Regions from separate parts of the Homo sapiens genome. Here region 2 is linked to region 1. Evidence: promoter capture Hi-C in human tissues and cell types (Jung and others, 2019). All regions are on one chromosome and are shown on one strand. The core of a region is centred on a gene start or on the middle of the fragment in contact, and the rest is flanking DNA. Distances in the headings are between cores, read along the strand shown. Region 1 holds the start of BTN3A1 (butyrophilin subfamily 3 member A1). Region 2 holds the start of TRA-CGC1-1 (tRNA-Ala (anticodon CGC) 1-1).

What was found. The method cuts DNA at HindIII sites, captures the fragments that hold promoters and counts their contacts. A contact is called where the count stands out against the background at its distance.
Region 2: a fragment that was not itself captured here is called in contact with the fragment with the promoter of BTN3A1 in region 1 in 1 of the 25 tissues and cell types used here (spleen).

The regions. Positions count from the first base shown.
Region 1 is chr6:26,401,025-26,405,131 of GRCh38, reverse strand. BTN3A1 (butyrophilin subfamily 3 member A1) reads right to left here and starts at 2,857. Exons shown (of 10, transcript NM_007048.6): 1 at 2,720-2,857. RefSeq lists an enhancer at 2,890-2,949. The HindIII fragment of the contact is 20,018 bases long and covers 1-4,107 here.
Region 2 is chr6:26,553,387-26,557,518 of GRCh38, reverse strand. TRA-CGC1-1 (tRNA-Ala (anticodon CGC) 1-1) reads right to left here and starts at 4,016; the gene lies at 3,945-4,016. TRI-AAT5-1 (tRNA-Ile (anticodon AAT) 5-1) reads right to left here and starts at 3,397; the gene lies at 3,324-3,397. It overlaps TRP-AGG2-2 (tRNA-Pro (anticodon AGG) 2-2), which reads right to left and starts at 2,249; the gene lies at 2,178-2,249. It overlaps TRK-CTT2-4 (tRNA-Lys (anticodon CTT) 2-4), which reads right to left and starts at 973; the gene lies at 901-973. RefSeq lists silencers at 3,331-3,420, 4,011-4,060 and a cis regulatory region at 3,123-4,132. The HindIII fragment of the contact is 6,659 bases long and covers 1-4,132 here.

The DNA of each region.
Region 1 (4,107 bases), core at 1,608-4,107:
CACCATGGTCAACTCATGGCCTAGTGGACTCCTGGTAGGATTAAGGAAGACTGCTTGGTGGGGGACCTGAAGTCAGTCAGGGGCTGAACCCACCACATTTAATCCAAGGCTAGTGATCACAGAGCTGCAAATAAGACCAGGCCTTACTTACCTTTTCTTTCTTCCCTTCATAAAGTCATTCAACAAATATTTACCAAGCACCCACAAGGGGCCAGGCCCATGATATAAGGGTTAGGGACACAAAGAGGGTAAGCAATAAGTAAAGGCTCTAAGATTCACAAGCTCTTTGGTCTCAGACATGGGACAAAACCATTGCAACTTTATTTACTTATACAATATCATGAAGTGTGAAATTTAGAATTGCACAGTTGGCCCAGCAGTTCCACTTCCTGATGTCAAGTCGAGCAAAGTACTTGCATGGGTGCAGACAGAAGCCTCTGTGAGAATGACACTGCAGCACTATTTTTAAAGTATAAAAATGGTAACCAACTGAACCAGCCACCCATCAGGAGACTGCTTAGAGGAATGACGGCTCATCCCTCGGAGGGAATTCAATGCAGCAGGTAAAAAGAGTTGATTTGTTGTCATGAACCTAGATAACGGAGACACACTAAGTGATCAAAAAACACCTTGCACAACTATACTAAAGATTCAATTGAAGAACAGAAGCAAAGCTATCCATTTCTGCATAACTATTTATGTAAATGCCTGAAAAACTCAAAAAAGACGCATGCTAATCTGAAGATCAGAGGTTAGTGAGTGAAGGGACACTTGGCCTTTTGTTCCCTTTACTTTTAAAATATTGGAATGCTTTAAATTTAAAACTTTTCGTGTATTACTTAACAATAATTATTATGAGTTACAATAGTGACGGGAACATATTAGCTGCTCAGTAAATACTAACTCCTCAACAGTTTCTTCCAAAACAAAGGAGCATGAGGCCTGCAGCCATAATCCCTCTTGCTGTGGGTCTGGGAATGGCCTCTGAGAACAAGATCTGCAGAGGGAGGTGGGGAGGGATGTAAAGGAAACAAGAGAACAGAGATCTGTGCAGCCGGCCATGCTTCACCCCTGCCTGGATCTTGCACCCACCCAGAGTAAACAATGCATTTCACCACATCTTTTGCTCCTCGAAACTGCTCTTTATGTTGCTATAGAGGGGGTATCATTTTTATTATCATTTTCCCTGAGTTAACAATTTCTCTGCTGTCCTTAGAATGAGACATAAGTTTTTCTTCTTCATAAAGGATATATTTTTTTTCCTGATTATAGTCAATATTGCAAATGAAAAAAAGCATAAAGGAATACAAGTTTAAGTAGTGGTTCATGCCTGTAATCCTTGCAATTTGGGAAGTTGAGATGGGAGGATCCCTGGAGCCCAGGAATTCAAGACCAGCCTGGTCAACATAATGAAACCCCATCTCTACAAATCAATCAATAAATAAAATAAAATATCTATAGTAGTAGTCATATACTTTGGTAGTGAAAAGGTAAATATTTCTGGAAGTATTTTGACCATATATATATAAAGGGCCTTAAAAAAAGTTATATGCTTTGCTAAGGAATGGCTATTAAAAGAAAAAAAAAAGGTGTGTGCTTTGACCCAAATGTTCCACTTGTAGGAATTAGTGTTGCAGAAAAAAGAAAATCAGGAACTAAGACAAAAATTTATGTTTTAGGCTGCTCAATACAGTAAAATCTACAATAGCCAAATGCAGAAAAGAGAAATAGTCCAAACTAGGGAAGTGTTTAAAAATAATTTTAAAGGCTGGGTGTGGTGGCTCACGCCTGTAATCCCAGCTCTTTGGGAGGCTGAGGTGGGCAGATCACCTGAGGTCAGGAGTTTGAGACCAGCCTAGACAATATGGCGAAACTCCGAATCTACTAAAAATACAAAAACTAGCTGGGTGTGGTGGCGTGCACCTGTAATCTCAGCTACCCAGGAGACTGAGGCAGGAGAATCACTGGAACCCAGGAAGCAGAGGCTGCAGTAAGCCGAGAACATGCCACTGCACTCCAGCCTGGGTGATAGAGCAAGACTGCATCTCAAAACAAACAAAAAAATTGTATATTCATACAATGAAATAGATTGTATCCATTGGATAGCATTCGTTAGGTTTGGGGGAAATGATGAATAAAAGGAAAAACACATACTGTTCCTAAAAGATTTTAAAACAAGGTTTAATGTATGGATCTAACATTGCTAAAATTATAAATAATTGCCCTTCATTAAAAACACGATTCCTAAAGGCTGCATGGAAATCTCTTTTATGATTGAACCATGCATTGTTTGTCTATCCCCCGCCTGTTGTATATGTATGCTGGTTCAGGTTTTTCTACATTTTTAATACTTCTGTAATGAACAAATTTACATATGAATCTATAAAGGACACCTCTTTTTAGAATCTCTTAGAATAGATGCCTTGAGTTGTCCAGAACAGATTTTAAAGATTGTTTGCCCTTTTCTGACTACAATACGTTCTTAAGAACATGCAATTAGACTATTTCTTCACCAAATCCCAAACTCTGCAGGTCTTTATTCTTTGCACTACTTCTCCCCTTTCCATGTGTCCACATGTGTGCGTGCGCACCCCCTCAGGCACACACCCCTTTCTCTGGGTGAGTACTCTCCCTGCATGCCCACTCACCACTCTCAGCGATTCAGCCCCTGTCCTCCCAGGCATTGTGAACCAGGCTCTAATCGACTTCCCCCACTCACCTCTTAGCATTCCCCTCTGAAAATCACAGCCCACAGAAGAAAGGCAGTTAATAGTTCTCCATTCTTTCTACTATGGTTAAATCTCCTTCTGGAAGAAAGGAAAAAGAAAGCAGAGACTGTCGGGTCATCGTGAGGAATAATAACAATCTCTCTTTGGAAGAATAAGTTTTTTGATTGGCTCAGAGGTGATGTTTCTCATCAGTTGCTGGGCAGAAACCACTGAGGAAGGCTGAAATGAAAACTGAAAGTACATTGAATTGTACACGTTGAAGAAAAATTCCTGCCCTACCTCCCTTACTGTTTATCTCTTTCATTCTTGTGTGTATATACGTATTTCTATATAGTCACTTGTCTTAAGTCTTTTATCATAATAGAAATATCAGCAGAACACAATGGGAAAAGATTTTAATGTGGTGAAGAGAGAAAGATGAGCACTAATTAAAATGCTACTGTGGCAGTTTGCTAACATTTGCTTGCATGAATATGGGTACATGGAGGAGGAGGAGATTTTACTACAGAGTCAAATAAACGTATGAATGGAAAGAAAACCAGACACAATGCACTTTTTTTTTGAAACGGAGTTTCACTCTGTCACCCAGGTTGGAGTGCAGTTGCAGGATCTTGGCTCACTGCAACCTTCGCCTCCCAGGTTCAAGTGATTTTCCTGCCTCAGCTCCTGAATAACTGGGATTACAGGTGCTCGCCCCATGCCCGGCTACTTTTTGTATTTTTAGTAGAGACAGGGTTTTGCCATATTGGCCAGGCTGGTCTCAAACTCCTGAGCTCAAGTGATCCTCCCTCCTCAGATCCCAAAGTGCTAGGATTACAGGCTTAAGCCACTGCACCCGGCCCACAATGCACATTTTTAAGCACCTCCAGCATCCAGGCTTAGGATCTGTTATCAAAAAATGTAATTTTTCTGGCTTCCAGAGGCAGTGCTGCTTGACACGTTTTACCTTTTTCAGCAAATTTTTAGTGCAGGTGTTTCTGAGCATCTCCATTCACCCTCAGCTCCTGTTCTGTGCTACACTGTATTTTCCTGTGTATTTGTTTCTCCTGCTGCCAGTGGAGTACATATTCTCTGAGGCCAGACTCTAGATAAACTGTGAATGCTGTCTCTGTAAGATGTCTATAAAACAAATTGGTTCTTCCTGTGGCCTAGGACCTCAAAACAGACTTTCTGGGATTGCAAGTCAATGATCGAAGTTCCTAAGGCTAAGATGTGACTGGGGCTGATGCAATTTAATTATATTGTAAATGTTTGAATTTAGACTGTGTAGTATCTGATTGAGATGGCTGGTCCCTTCTGCATCATGCATTCCCCCTTTCTTCTTGGTGATAAGGCCTAATTTTCTTAGGTACTACAACGTTCTTTTCCATCTGGTAGA
Region 2 (4,132 bases), core at 1,486-3,985, 150 kb before region 1:
TCTGCTCAGAATCTTCACAGACTTCCCATCTCTCAGTTAAATCTAAAGTCCTTACAAGCCCAGAAGGCTCCATATCTTTTTGACTTCCTCCCCGCCATTCTTCTCTCATACTGCTGCAGCCACTGGGAATGGCAGGAAAACATGTAACATCAAGTTTCTCAACCCAAAAAGCTAATACCTTACACCTATTATAGAAAGATGATGTTTTCCATAAGGCATTGATTTCCTGTGGAATTCTAGACTGAGTAGGCAGCCAACTTGCTATATGTATCATAAAATTAAAAAAGGACCTTATAAAACAATGGTTTCTAAACCACTGGAGATTCAGATCCTGTGAGCCCAGGAATCTAAAATTTTAGAAGTGCCTCAGGTGATTCACATGTACAGCCAGTCTTGGACACCTGAGCTAGAGCATTTTCTTTATATTGTCCTGAGACCTGAAGAGATGAGAACTATGTTAGTGAAGTGAGAGGAAGGTATGTGGCTAATTGGGCTTTTGAAATCAACGAAGAGGTGTGTGGTATGCTTTTTTAACTCATGGTCATGGGTCCTTCCTGCCTCCTAAACCTTTTTTGCTGGGATTTGTGCTTTAGAATCAGCCCAGGAACTTGTTAAATATACAAGAGCTCATGCCCTACCAACGACTTACATAACCTATGTTTAAGTATATCTGGTTTTACAAAACCTCTAGGCCAGAGAAGTGTATCCACACCAGGGATCACTGAGACTAAGTTCAGCTAGAATTTCAGAGAAGGCTGGAATGCGTCAGTCAAGTCAGTAAGGCTAAAATGGTCACGATGATCACACAATTCCCTTCTTCCAGAGGGATGAGCTTTAATAATGCCCTTTTTTTGGACCGCAATGAGAAACCTGAAAACATTTTAGGATTGAAAACCAGAGCGCCCAACGTGGGGCTCGAACCCACGACCCTGAGATTAAGAGTCTCATGCTCTACCGACTGAGCTAGCCGGGCTCACCCGAACGTAGCTCTTCCCCCAATACACTAAGAGAATACATAATTTCTTTGGTATGATTAGGATTCTAGATTTCAATGTCTATGTTGGTTTTATAGGTAAGATGAAATGAAACTCAAAGGACGTAAACGTAACCTGAATCATTAGCATGCATTCCAGTCACTTTCTCTACATTTTCCCTCTTTTCCCCATTCTCACCAATTTGTGTTGATAGGCCGCAAAATGTTTCCAGGACCTAAAAGTCAGTGTCATTGGATGCTTACCAGAGTGACCCCTGCACTGGCACTCCCAAAACTCCAGACCCGGTTACCAATGTGGCTCCAAGCATAGTCCCAAGGACCTTAGGTCCTCGAGCCCAAACAATTTCCTGGACCCTCTCTGTGGCCCAGTGAGGCGTTCCTCTCTTGTTCTCATAACCCATCAATTCTTGCCCCTCCTGCCAAGCTATATGGCCCTCAAGAAAATGTCTGCGGTGTTCTCCCACCTTTGCGGGACCCGTATGTTTGCTCATTTGTTGTCCTTCATAATCAAGGCACACGTAGAAAAGGGGGCAGGGTTGCAATTATATTTTAATATAAAGTATCTGACAACCACTACAATATAGGATGCAGTGATTTTTGTATGTTGTGTTTACCGCCAACCGCAAAAGTAGATTCAGCACAACAGATTAAAAAAAAAAATCTACTTAATGAGTATACCAATGGTACGCTCCAGGAGGAGAGAAAAAATGCTCCTTCTCAGAAGAAAGCAGAACCGTGATCTGTGTGACAGAGTAGTACTTGACGCTGTAGCAACGAGGAAAGTCTAAATAACTCAAAGGTTCCTAACACCTTGACTCTTGATCTTCCCGTTTAAATCCATCCTTTGATGTAATGAATCAATAATAAATAGCATTGAATTAAGATGTGACCATTTTATTTCTAACATATTTCACATGAACACAATCGTGGAGTCGGAACTTCTAGAAGATCCGGAAACGTTTGCCTTTGCAAAAGTCTGTAGAGCGGACTAAAGAGAATCAAAAAAAAAAAAAAAACAAAAAACAAAAACAAAAAAAAACTCCTTAACTAGAGATCGCAACTCACTTGTTGGTTTCTAACGCATATCGATGCCACAATTATCGGCGCTTCTAACTGGCAAGTTTTAACTTATATACTAAGGTTGGGCGAAAGCAGCCAGATTCAGAAGCAAGGGACAAAACTAGGGCTCGTCCGGGATTTGAACCCGGGACCTCTCGCACCCTAAGCGAGAATCATACCCCTAGACCAACGAGCCGCCTGAGCATTTATTATTTTAGATGCGTTAAATATTTACCAAATTTCTTTTTTTTTAAATGTACGTGTAGCTATATGCAACTATAACTGATAATACCTTTAATTAATTTTGTTAAAAAAATTATCAGGTCAATGAGGCTCTCAGAATTTCTCCGAATTTTCCCTCAATCCAATCCTAAGGACTGTTATCTCAAAGGGCTCTTGACACAGCCTTTCTGAGAAACAGCTGTGGCGTTTGTTTAAAACGCAGAAATCTGGGTTCCTTCTCAAATCTGAGTAAAAGTCTCTGGAGGCGAGGCCCAGTAAGTTTCGTTTTTGACAAGCGCTAGAGCTCACCCACAGGTGTGGGGCTAACAAAGCCCACGTGGAGCTCGTGAGTTGCGATCAGCATTTTCCACAGAAAATAGTAAAACACCTGAAAAATCACTCAACAGGCTATACAGCTGTGAGGTCGTAAATAAACAGAGAGCATTAGTTGTACAAGGAACAGGGGATATTTAACATCAAGATGTGGACTGAGCAGTTATTCCCGGCGTTGGCCAACCTGGACCAACAGGTCCAGGTTGCTGATGTGAAAAAGGTAGATTTTGGAAAGGGGCATAGTCCTTTCTTGGGAAATCAAAGTAACAAGAAAATGTTTCTCTCGGAATGGAATTTCTGTCTTGATGTGTGAGTGTTGATCTTCCCAAGTAGGGATCCTTAATTGGGCAATCAGAGATAATGAACACTGCCTTCTCACACTTGCCCCACATTTCATTATCTGAAGATTTATCTGTTTTCAGACTATTTCAAGGACAGTGTTGGGGCACTAAACAAATTGGTGGCACTGTTTTGCCCTCTATTGAATTTAAATCTAACTCCTAAACTATCCTACTGCTTTTCTGCTTCTCATGAGCAAACATTTTGAGCACCATGACTTAAGAAAACAGGACCTCTGGACTTGCTACAAAGGTTTGGACTTCTGGCAAAGTGTTAGTTATAAAGGTTAGCACAGTCTTTCTTGTAGTAACAGTCCTCAGACAATTGATTTTTCCTTGTCTTTGGCCGTAAGTTACGTGATGGAAGAAAACAAAGTTGGCCCGTACGGGGATCGAACCCGCGACCTTGGCGTTATTAGCACCACGCTCTAACCAACTGAGCTAACCGGCCACCTGTCTCCAAGAAGTTTTAAAAACTGCATCAAGAATTTCATCAGTGTTTCGGAATGTTTTCATTTTTGTTATTCCCCTACGGGAGACCGGTGCACTAGAGCAGCCAAATTCGCCCGTGCTGAGCTGAGATTCATCCTTCTTTCGATATTTGTCCTATTTTTATCATCCTATGACTCACAGGACTAACAATAGCCCGTCTTCCCTCCCCTTTCCATGTTCTCAAGCCAAGATTATTTCTGCCCTAAAGGCAAACCATATACCACAAATAGGGCTCATTAATGGGTTCCGGGCAACTTTCCAGGTTGCTCCTCTTCTGTCATCTCCCCATTGGGCATGTTTTTCTGTGTTCTCAATTCCATTTGTTTCACATAGATAGTTCAAAATACTTCAAAGCAATCTTGTTCCCCGTGCTCCATATACAATTCTACATACAGTGGCTAAAAGAAAGCCATAAAAAGTTAAAGAAGTGGAGGATACAAAACACAATTATTTCACATTTTGAAATATAGTTTCTAATAGTATTGGGCAGATAGGATAAAACAACTTGGAGATGCCGGGGATCGAACCCGGGACCTCATACATGCGAAGCATGCGCTCTACCACTGAGCTACATCCCCTACCCTAAGAAACCGTTCTTTGTAGCTCTCCCTAGTTGTTTGTGAAAGATTTCTGCTACCACCCCACCGCCCCGCCGTCTCCGTCCTCCCATATCTGTCCCCGTCCCCATCTCTGT